Linked DNA regions of Homo sapiens: region 1 is linked to region 2. Evidence: promoter capture Hi-C in human tissues and cell types (Jung and others, 2019). All regions are on one chromosome and are shown on one strand. Each heading gives the region's core, a stretch centred on a gene start or on the middle of the fragment in contact. The rest is flanking DNA. Distances are from core to core; before and after follow the strand shown. Region 1 holds the start of FOXA1 (forkhead box A1). Region 2 holds the start of NKX2-8 (NK2 homeobox 8).

Region 1 (5,656 bases), core at 2,751-5,250, 1.0 Mb after region 2:
TTGTTGGGATTTTATTATGCTGTTGACGGTTTGGTTTGTGTGGTTTTGTTTGCTGTTGATTTTTTCTCTCTTGCTACCAGCATGGCTATGCCAGACAAACCCCCCAGTCCCGGGAGCTAGGAAGTGTTTAGGACGGGTCTGGAATACACACCTTGGTAGTACGCCGGCTCCAGGGCTGAGGGCTCGATGGGGCTCCTGGTGGTCACCGAGGCGCTGCCTAGAGGCAGGCTGGCGGGCAACGTAGAGCCGTAAGGCGAGTATTGCAGTGCCTGTTCGTATGCCTTGAAGTCCAGCTTATGCTGCTGCTCCGAGGAGGACATGAGGTTGTTGATGGAGAACGGGTGGTTGAAGGAGTAGTGGGGGTCCCCTTTCAGGTGCAGCTGGGACTCGTGGGGTGCCAAGCCGTGTGCCGGGTGAGAGGCGGGCACAGAGGCCAGCGCCCCGGGCCCGGAGCTTATGGGGGGCGCAGTTGAGGAGGCTGGAGTCTTCAACTCCGAGGCGCCCCCTGTCGCCGTCGCCCCACTGTGGTCCAGAGTCTGGGGGCTGGCGGCGGGCCCGGGGGCCGGCGCGCCCTCTAGCTGGCCGGTCTTCCCGTGCACACCCCGATGGAGGGGCGAGTCGGCGCTGGGGTTAGAGGCGCCAGAGGGGTCCTTGCGGCTCTCAGGGCCGCCCTTGGCGCCGCTGCCCCCGCTTCCGCTCCCGCCCCCGCCGCCGGCCCCCGGCTGCTTCTCGCACTTGAAGCGCTTCTGGCGGCGCAAGTAGCAGCCGTTCTCGAACATGTTGCCGGAGTCCGGGTGCAGCGTCCAGTAGGAGCCCTTGCCCGGCTTGTCCGGGGAGCGTGCCACCTTGACGAAGCAGTCATTGAAGGACAGCGAGTGGCGGATGGAGTTCTGCCAGCGCTGCTGGTTCTGCCGGTAATAGGGGAAGAGGTCCATGATCCACTGGTAGATCTCGCTCAGCGTGAGCATCTTGCTGGGCGCCTGCTGGATGGCCATGGTGATGAGCGAGATGTACGAGTAGGGCGGCTTGGCGTGCGGGTAGCTGCGCTTGAACGTCTTGGCGTCGCCGCCGCCGCCCGCGCGGCTGCGGCCCAGGTTGGACGGCGCGTACGCCATGGGGCTCATGCACGGGTTCATGGCGGCCGCGTAGGGGCCCAGGCCATTCATGGAGGCCGCCTGCTGCGCACCCATGGCGCCCATGCCGCTCGGGCTCAGCGCCGTACCCATGGCCGTCACGCCGGCCGCAGTCATGCTGTTCATGGCGCCCGCCGAGCCCCCCGGCATGCCGGCTACTGCGCCGGGACTCAGGCCGGCCCCTAGGCCCGGGTTGGCATAGGACATGTTGAAGGACGCCGGGGTCATGTTGCCGCTCGTAGTCATGGTGTTCATGGTCATGTAGGTGTTCATGGAGTTCATGGAGCCCAGGCCTGAGTTCATGTTGCTGACCGGGACGGAGGAGTAGGCCTGGAGTGGAGACAGCGAGTGAAGAAGCCCCGGAGGGCGGGGTTAGTGGTGGGCACTGGAGGGCGGCCGTCCGGGACCTAACCCGGGGGCAAGTGCAGAGCACTTTGCAGAACACGGGACGCCCCCACCCGGGGCAAATGGCTAAGCGCCCTCCCCAGACCGAGCAAAGATGTCTTGCACGGCAGGGGGAAAATCCTAGCGCGGCAGGCATGAAAGATAAACGCTCACAGAAAATATGACCCCAGGAAGATGTGTAATCGCCTTACACGCCAGGCTCAGGGGCTGGCTTCCAGGGCCCCCTCATCGCCTCCTCCATCCACGCCAGGCGGTATCCCAAGTCTCCACCCCAACCAGCCTCGGCAAAGCGCCCTTTGGGGGGAAATCGTTGATAGAGCAAATCACCTATGGACATGGGACCCCCTGAATCATCTGTTTCCCAACAAGTGGCTTTATTGTCCTAGGGGTTTTTGCCTATGGTGACTTTTTGTTGTTTATTGTATTTAGAAGTAGTGTTTTCTACCTGCTTGTAGCAACTGTAATGTTAAAAGGGAAGCAAACTCAGAGTTAAATAAGTTTTGGAAAAATAAAACTAAAAGTAGATCCATAACAGAAAGGGCTGGGAGGGGGTGCTATAATAATCTCAAAGTGCTATATGCATTTTATTTTAACATGACTTTACATGTACACCTTTGCAAGCTATTTAGAAACTCGCATTAATTTTGTCACCACTTTACAGTCCCCTGTTTGAAAAATTTGGTGACACAGTTTGTCAAAATAAATCTTTTTTTTTTTTCACATGCTGATGTTGCTGCCGATGATTTCAACGCCTGGCTTTGAGATTCCGTGAGTAGTCTTGAATAATTTAAAATTCGAAAATCAAATTCTACTTATTTTCTCTTAATGCTATTGTATTTCCTAATTCTCAGCTTTAACATGTAAGAAAGTACTTTCGCTAGGGGTCTTAATTGAATGGTGGGGTCGAGATGACTGCGTCAGAATTAAATCTCTGGAAGACCTCTGAGCTCCTTTTAAAATCATCAACAAGCGAAAATCCTTATCAATAGCGATGTGGGAATGCATTAGGTACAGTATTTTAAACATACAAAACCTAGGCATATTAAAAAGCACTCCTCTGGTAATTTAATAAGGAATAATGATGTCCTTAAGTTTATTTTAATCAGCAAGTATGACTCAATTTGAAAATATGAGAACAAATAGATTTAAATAGGAACACCCAGTAAACTATGGTATGCAAATAAACTCAGAGGTAAACTTGTGAATACATAAATCTAAATAAGTCAGTTACCATCAAAATATTACGTGATCCTATATTTTTCTGTCCACGTCTTAAAAGTATTTTTTACCTTGGGGCTTTATTTTCTTTCCCTCTTCCCAAGATTATCCAAGGCAGTTCCAATACGCGTTTTCAATAATGGTAATTAAACTTTTGGAGGGTAATCGCCAGCTGTTTCCAGAAAAATACTTTTAATAGGTGGTAGTCCTCCCTGTAACTGGTTTTCCCTGTAATCCTTTTGTGCACATTGTAAAAATAACCCCCATGAACGTGCCACCAAGGGGACAATGAAGAGAAACAGGTTCTCGGCCCAGAGTTGTGAAGAAGATTTTGGTCGCACTAGCGCCACCCAGCGGTTTTAGAGAAGGAGCACACTTCTCCCCAAATAGGGCTTTTGAAGAACAAGTTTTACAAAATTTAGAAATCGTTTCATTATTGAGACACCCAACTTGGCGGCAGAGCGCTTTAATCAGAAGACGTCTGCGAATTAAACGGTGGGACGAAGAGGTCGCCTTGTGGGTATGCTCCGGCTTTCTCAGAGTTGCTTCCAACTCGCACCGGCGCTCGCCCGCCCGCTGCACCCCGGGCCCGGCTCCTGCTCCCGCTCGCTGCTGGGAAGAGGCAAGCGCTTCCTAGAGCCGCTGTTTTCAAAGCCCGGAGTTTCCTAAAACTCCCTCTCCGGCTGCGAGAGTCGGGACAGAGCAGGGCAGCAGGTCCCGCTTCCAGGCCCGGCCAAGGCCCGGCCGGGGCCACACCGGCGGGCGGGCAGCGGTGGCACCGAGAAGGCGCCCCCGGCCCGCCTGCCTGCCTTGCCTGGCGCCCACCGCTCCCCGGCCTCCCCCGGCACGGGCTCCAGCGGCGCCCCACCGGCCGCCCGCCTCGCCTTGCCTCTCACCTCCTGCGTGTCTGCGTAGTAGCTGTTCCAGTCGCTGGTTTCATGCCCTTCCATCTTCACAGTTCCTAACATCCTGGAGCCACCCTGCCCAATACAACCATCCAGCCCTGTGCGAAGCGACGGGCGGCCGCGCGGCGCGGGGCGGGGGAGGGGAGCTGAGCAGCTGCAGTCACCCGAGCGCCCGCGCGGGCCCAACGCCACCCGGGCGAAGAGGAAGCCCAGAGCTGCGGGGCGCGGCGTGCGCGGCGGCGGCGGCGGCGCGGCGGGCGGGGGCAGCGCCGGGGGCAGGCGGCTGCCGCGGAGCGCGGCGCCGGGGAGCGCCTCCGCGGGAAGTGAGCGGGCTGCCTCTGCGAGGCAAGTGCAGTTGAGCTGATGTGGATCTTACGTCGCTTGAGTGCCCACCTCCTCGTCCTCTCCCCATTTGTCCGCCGCACAAAGACGCTCGCACCTACAAAGCCCGAGGTGCACCTGCAAGGCGGCCGCCCGCCAGTCCGGCCGCCGCGCCTCCCGCCCCGCCGCTTCACCGCTGCGCGCGACCCCTCCCCCGCGACCCCTCCCCCAAGCGGGGCCCTCACTTTGTTTGCAAAGCAGTGTAATTGGTTTAGGCCCGGAGGCTAGGGAAAGAGGGAAATGGGGAGGGAGGGGGTGTAACCCCCTTTGGAAAAAGAAAAAATAGGCGGGGCCAGGCGGGCGGGCGGGCTAGGGCTCTGGATCGGAACCTCGCAGCCGGAGAAGGCCGGGGGCGGTGGCGTCGGAGACTGGGCTTAGAGACCTTGTGGGATAACTGACCCCGGGGTCCCTCCCCAGAGGTACACGCCACCTTCCGAGCGCGGGCTGCGGCCCAGTCTCGCGCCCCTCCTGCTCTTTGCTTCCTCCCTCCTGATTCCTGACCCAAAGTTCAACCCCGGGAGACTGGAGAATACAGACTTTTTTTTTTCTTTCCTCCTGAGAGCTTCAGACTAGAAAAGGGAAAAAGCCCCACTTTTGCTTCGTCACTAGAAACCGGGTCATCTGAGTCAGCCGAGCCAAGTGACGTTAGGCCGACCCGGGCCCCGGGCTAGCAGAGCGGAGGCGCTGCCACGAAACTCGTACCTGCGGCTAAGAGCAGGTGAGTCACAGCACCGGTTTATATCTTTATGACATAACTTTTTTTTTTTGTTCCGCCTCGGTCCGCTCCTCTCCCCTTGTCATCTGTAGCGACCACAAAGAGGAAGAAACTGAGAGCAGATGTCTGTGTGATAGGGCAGGCGGACCCAAGTCGGGCCGTCCTCCCCCTGCCGGGCTCCTCCTCCCGCCCCCCTTCAGCCGCTTCAGGGAGTGAGCTGGAGACGACCGTCTGGTTTCTGATAGGAAAAGGTCAGGGGGAGGGGACATCTCCCATAACACGCGCGTTAGCTGGGAGAGCAAGGGCCTGGGCGCGGGAACGCATCTGCACTGCGAAAGAGATGCCAGGCAGAAGCCCGAGACTGCCCGCAGCGGCGCTTGGTCCTGTCTGTGACCCGGAGGGTCCGGGCTGAGATCTCAGGGGCTCGCTTGGTTCCTAATCGGTCCTGGACGTCGGTGGGAGAGTCTTCCCAACGCAAAGTCTCTTTACTCTCATGAGGCCCTGGGTGGTGGTTGCCCACTTGTCCTGGGAGAGAGAACAACTGAAGTGACCGGGTGATAGGCAATTAGTTGGTGATAGATTGGGAGATGGTGCGTGTGTTTTGAGTGTGTGACCGTTTGTATATTTCTGAGCATGTGTGACTGTGTGTGTTTCTGAGTGTCTGTGACCATGTGTTTGTTGTACTGCCTGTAGAACCACTAGGTTTCCTTAAGTAACAATAAAATAAAATCTAAAGTAATTAAGAATCCGCAAAATCTTCTTGTTTTGCAAAGTTTTTAAAATGTTATTAATCTCATTTTAAGAAATGTGTTTTAACTTGTCTTCCAAACAGATACCTTTTTCCCTGTGCTTTGTTCTTTTAAATCTCTTTTACTTGAAATCTGGCAAGAGAATCACTT
Region 2 (5,297 bases), core at 1,779-4,278:
TTGGACAAGAAAGCTAGAGCCCCTAACAGGCCCATGACTCCTCCTTAGAGACCTCCATAAGGGCCCTTGGCTCCCTTCCCCGCACCTGATGCCCCAACTGCTCTCCTCTGGCGCATCTCCCAGCAGCGGGTGCCTGGGAGCGAGGTCGTCGCTTCTGTGAGAAAGTGACTGCTTGCACAAGAGGCCCTAGCGGGGCAGTTACAAATCCAAGGGGTGCTAGTGTGCACTGGCCGGGGTGGACCTGCCCCAATCTCGGATTCCCAAGGCTCCCCCAGGCGGCCCTCCCTCAGCTGGGAGTCGCGTCCTCCCGGATCTGCCCAGAGGAAAAGCCCTGTGCCGGTCGTTCCCCCGACCCTTTGATGTCTTCACGTCCTCCTCCCCACCCTGGCCAGGTACTGCGCCATGAGGAGACAGGAAATCACAGCTAACTTAGGCACTTGCAGGCTTAAATAGGGGTTACAAATTCCCCGGTGCTCTTCAGGTCCCCAGGCACTTTTCAAAGGGTCCCCGAGCACTTGGCTCCTGCACTCTGGAAACAGCTTGCGGCCCGGCCTGGGCTGCTCCGGTGCAGCGCGCCCCGCACCTGGCCTCGCCGGCTCATCTCCGGAGAAACTCCTTCTGCCCTGTCGTGGTCCACAGGGTTGACTTTTCGGTATTCGAAACGCCAGCAGCTCTGGGAGCCCAGCGGAGAGTCGGAGTCACTCTGGGGCCAGTGACGCCTCCCGCTGACAAGAATCCCAAAGTTGCCTCAGCTTCCTCCTCTCCTTTTCTTCCCGCGCCCAACCCTGACATCACCACCCCTCCATCCCCCAGGTATCTTCCTAAAGCCGTGTCGGGACTGCAACCCGCCCTTCGATCCAGCTGGGGCCGGGCCCCACTTAGCCAGTCAAGGGGCGAGCCAGCGATGCGAACACCGGTCTGGGGGGCACGACTCCCGCCTACGTTCCCCGCAGGCGCGCAGGGGACCCAACCCCACACATTTTATTCTCGAACTACGAGGAAAAATACTCTATTTTTTAAAAAAATAACTTGCTTCCTATACAAATCGCTATTTAAAAATATACAAATAAGGCCCAAGCATAAAATCTAACTCTGGGGCTGGCGGTGGAGGGAAGGTGAGGGAGGGGGCTCTGGCACACGTCCCTCGTGTGTGCTTGCGCGACGGCTGATGAGGGCGCGCCAGGGACCCTGGCGCCCAAGGAGATGGGGCTGCAGGGAGGCGGACGGAGAGCGTTCCAGGCGTTCGGCTCCGGCCCTGCTCCAATCGCAGAGCGCGCTCCAAAGTCGAGGGTAGCCCCAGGTGCCGCCCTGCGGCCTCACCAGTTCCAGGAGACCAGGGCGGGGGATGCTAAGTGCTGGTAGGCGGGGAAGAGGCCAAGCGCCGAGCCGGGACCGAAGGCAGGGTAGCCCGGCAGAGGGCAGGCGGCGGCTGGAGGGGCGCCGCACTTCTCCTGGGCCGCGGCGGTTCCCACCTCGCCACCGCCGCCGCCGCCGCACGGCTGCCCGTCGCGAACAAGCACCGGCACCACCACGCGACGCAGCAGGCCGGGCGCGGCGTGCAGCTCGGCGGATGCTGCCAGGTCAGGCGACTCCGCCGCCCCTGGAGCGCGAGCGCGCTTCAGCTTGTAGCGATGATTCTGGAACCAGATCTTGACCTGCGTGGGCGTGAGGCGAAGCAGGCTCGCCAGCTGCTCGCGCTCGGGCGCAGACAGGTACCGCTGCTGCCGGAAGCGCCGCTCCAACTCCAGCGTCTGCGCCTTGGAGAATAGCACCCGCCGCTTCTTCCTTTTCTCGGCGTCCGAGCCCGGAGACGCGGGCCTAGCGGACGGCCGCTGCGACGAGTCTGGCGGGCTGGTCTCCAGGCTGCTCTCGTCCGAGGCTAGGGACAGCAAAGGAGACACGGGTGGGTGAGACGCCGGACCCTACGAGGGCCTGCTGCCCTTCTGGCGCGGGCGTGGAGGCACTGGCCAGAGGGCACGCCCACTAGCCCGAGACTTTCGGGATGAGGCCATTTCCTGAGTCCACATCTGGACATCCACCTCTCCGAATGCGGTGACCTCATTCATACCACAGCGGTCATCAGCGGGCCTGAGATCGTGCCCCGAAAAAACCCACCCCGGGGCCCTCTTAACATGTCCGCACCGGTAGTTGCGCTGGCCGACCAGTTTATCACAAGCTGGGTCACCAGCGCCGGCCTCCTCCAGGTCGACTGCACTGCAGTGTGCCGAGGTTTGCGGAGCCCTGAGTGGGAACGGGGTGGGGGTAAACTCGCCAACACTGGCCATCCCAGACGGAGGCCTGGAGATCGTGGCCGTGTTTTCAGGCATGGAGAGGGGGCGGGGGGTGGGGTGGGGGCGGCAGGTGGCGGCGCGTTTTAAATTTCAATTATTCCGACCTCTAGAAATCGTCAGACACAGAAACCCCAAATCTCGGAGCACCAGTGCCAGGCAGGGATCTGCTCTTAGGATGTGCCGACCGGGATGAATGCGTTAGGGGTTCGAGGACAGGGCTCCCGTTTCCAAGACTGAGGAAATCTAGACTCTGGGCTGGGATTTCGGCTTTCCGGCCCCTCGTGGGCTGGGCCCTTGATTCTGCTGCCCCACGCCTCCTACCTCCCACCCCGCACCGCAATCCACCACGCACTTACAAGGGTAGTGGCCGCGCTCCGAATCCAGCCAGGCGGCGCAGGGGTCGGGCTGGGGGGCGCGTGGTTCTGGCTCCCGCCTCGGCAGGTGTTGCGCGTCCTGCTCGGGTAAATCTAGAAGGCTGCGCACGGTGAAGCTCAGGCGTCCAGAGGTGGCCATGGCCGAGGAGGGGAAGGAGGCGGGGGCAGGGCAGGCTGGGAACGGAGGGGCGGCCGGGACGCCGCTCCTACGGATGGGCGTGGGAGGCGCTCGCCATGCGCTGGCAGCCGGGATATTAGCGCATTTACAGCGGAATCTCTGTTTATATAAACAGCTCTTCCCACCCAGGCCGCTTTGAAAGCCGAGGTCCGGGTCTCCAGGGTGTTAAGTACCTGAATGAGCACTGGACCAGAGCCGGGGCGAGCCCGGAAGGTGCCACCTCCGCCCCCGCCCCGCCCCGCACCCCGCCCCGCACCCCGCCCCTTGGCGCCCAGTTACCTCCCAGAGGCTGCAGGAAGCAGCATTTGGCATTAGCGATTCTGTCTGATTAGCCCAAAGTGGGGACAGATAATGGGGATTGTTACCAGTGAATAACATCTTGGGTGGCGAGCGGTGGCCACCACCCGCCTGACCCAGCCCCAGCTTCCTCCTCCTCCTCCTGGGCTGACTTGAGGCCAGGCCCCGCGGGAGCGCCGGGAAGGGTGGGGGTGGCAGGGGTGGGTTTATTAGCACCCAGGAATTTATTCCCTGTTTGCTTTATTCTTCGAGCTTGTTTGCTGGAGTGGTAGTTTCCCGCAATTATCCAGAAAGTGATTTACAAAGCGGCGTTAAACTCTGGCGCGCTCCCTTTCTCTTTTTGGTTGGGCCCCTCTAAGATTCAGGATGACAAGTTTCAGGAGGGCGTAAAGATTAGCCTGGCCCTGCCAGCATTGGCCCAGGGGTTTCAACGGCCGCTGGGAGCCTCGGATCACACCATACATCCCCCTAACAGCCTCAGAGGTGCTGAGGAAGGGCTGGGACAACATTCGGAGCCCCAGCTCCACGTCTCCACAGGCCGGCAAAACAGAAGAGGCTTGTAGCCAAGCTACTTAGGTCTACAGTGCCTGTCTCTTTGGCCCAGCTTCGCCCGGCCGCTGCCGATCTCGGAGCTCGGAGGCCGAGCTCCACAAATTTGGGTCCAGGCCCGCTTTAGAGCCCCTGGGCGGGGGCGCTTCTCAGGGCATCCTGTGAGGGCTTTGAGGCCTCCTTGGAGTCGCCAGATGAACTGGTGCCGCCTGTGCGCCTTGGCCCCATAGCCTCAACGGCACTCTCACTGCCTGGGCTTTGGTCTTTGCCCAGGAGCCTGCCCATGGCCTACGCTCCCCGCTCGCAGCATGGCAGACCCTGACGAGGCTGCCCGCCTTGGTCCGGGAATGGACCGATCGGGAGAATTAGGACAGGGCCTACCCGGCAGAAAATACCACCGGCCATGGGTTTCTCTGGGATCTTCTAGTTTCCACAGTTCCACCCTAGAAAATGATCAATGTAGGAGGCGCAGGGAACAGGCCGCCGTGGATACATTTTGTTGGGCCATGGCCTAGCTCTGGCCGCGCTTCAATCTACAGAGGAACGCCCTCTCAGAGGCCTCTCCTACTGAAGCTAGTAGTTTGGATATTTAGTTGCTAAATTGTAGCGAAGGGCTCTGTACTTGGGTGGCTGCACCAGAAGTCCTGGCTCCTCCCGGGCTGAACTCGAACCTGGCTCGGATGCGGCGGCGGCGGCCCTGTCAAGCCCCGCGCACCCTCCCCAGCAGCCTCCCTATCAAGCGTGCCCGAGGTGCCCGGAGCTGCACCGCGCGCTGGGTGGTCGGGCGGAGGCAACCCCAATACAGGCCAACTGCTAGGCCGCGGACAAAGGGGAAATGGAGCTCGACGCCCCGGACCTGTTGGAAGCATTTGTTCCAGTCAAGATTTTGCATTTGTTCAGTCCGGAATAATGCATGATTGACGTCTGCTCACAATGCGCTTTAACGCGCCGGGATAAATCGGAGCTTGTCCGGTGTTGTCATGGTTTTCAATGGGGTTCAATGGGATTGGGAGCACGATCGACTCTGCTGGCCGTCTTTCCGCGGCCCTGGCAATAGATTTATTAGTTATGTCTTTTTAAATAAGATTAAACTGAAATGACTTGGCTGTCCTCTCTGCAGACGGGGCCGGGGCGGGAGCCTGGAGTGGGCAGGGGACAGCGGAGTCTGGAAACCCGCCGCGCACCGCTCCTCAGCTCCCGAGCCCCCAGCGTCTAGAGAGTGGGCAGGTCGCAGACTGGCTCCAGGCCTCGTGGACTTATCTCTGGCCAGAGCCCGAGGCCTGGCAATCTCTGCCAGCCCACCTCCCTAGTGAGAAGCTGAGGCACTGACAAAGACCGTCCTGGGGAAGCAAGTGTTAAGACTGATTCCCAAATTCGGTCTTGAACTATGAGATTGTGTAAGGTAGAAGGAGCTCTGGCCTGGAAATCGGTTCGCATCCTCGCTCTGCCCCTACCTATCTCTAACCACCTCATTTCTCTAAGCTTCCTTCCTTCCTTTTTTTTTTTAAAATTAATCTGATACAGAAGATAGTAGGAGAATAGATTTGGTAATTTCTAAGGACCCTACCAGTTTTATGATTCTGTATCTCAGGAATTTTTCTAAACCTA

The links. The method cuts DNA at HindIII sites, captures the fragments that hold promoters and counts their contacts. A contact is called where the count stands out against the background at its distance.
Region 1: the fragment with the promoter of FOXA1 here is called in contact with the fragment with the promoter of NKX2-8 in region 2 in 1 of the 25 tissues and cell types used here (mesendoderm cells).

What each region holds. Positions count from the first base shown.
Region 1 is chr14:37,591,249-37,596,904 of GRCh38, forward strand. FOXA1 (forkhead box A1) reads right to left here and starts at 4,001. Exons shown (of 2, transcript NM_004496.5): 1 at 3,653-4,001; 2 at 1-1,463. The coding sequence starts at 3,724. The coding sequence ends at 117. TTC6 (tetratricopeptide repeat domain 6) reads left to right here and starts at 4,381. Exons shown (of 33, transcript NM_001310135.5): 1 at 4,381-4,760. RefSeq lists enhancers at 1-504, 3,937-4,796, 4,310-5,509. The HindIII fragment of the contact is 7,361 bases long and covers 2,656-5,656 here.
Region 2 is chr14:36,579,586-36,584,882 of GRCh38, forward strand. It overlaps NKX2-8 (NK2 homeobox 8), which reads right to left and starts at 3,029. Exons shown (of 2, transcript NM_014360.4): 1 at 2,648-3,029; 2 at 419-1,879. The coding sequence starts at 2,804. The coding sequence ends at 1,317. RefSeq lists enhancers at 799-1,609, 1,610-2,420. The HindIII fragment of the contact is 13,278 bases long and covers 1-5,297 here.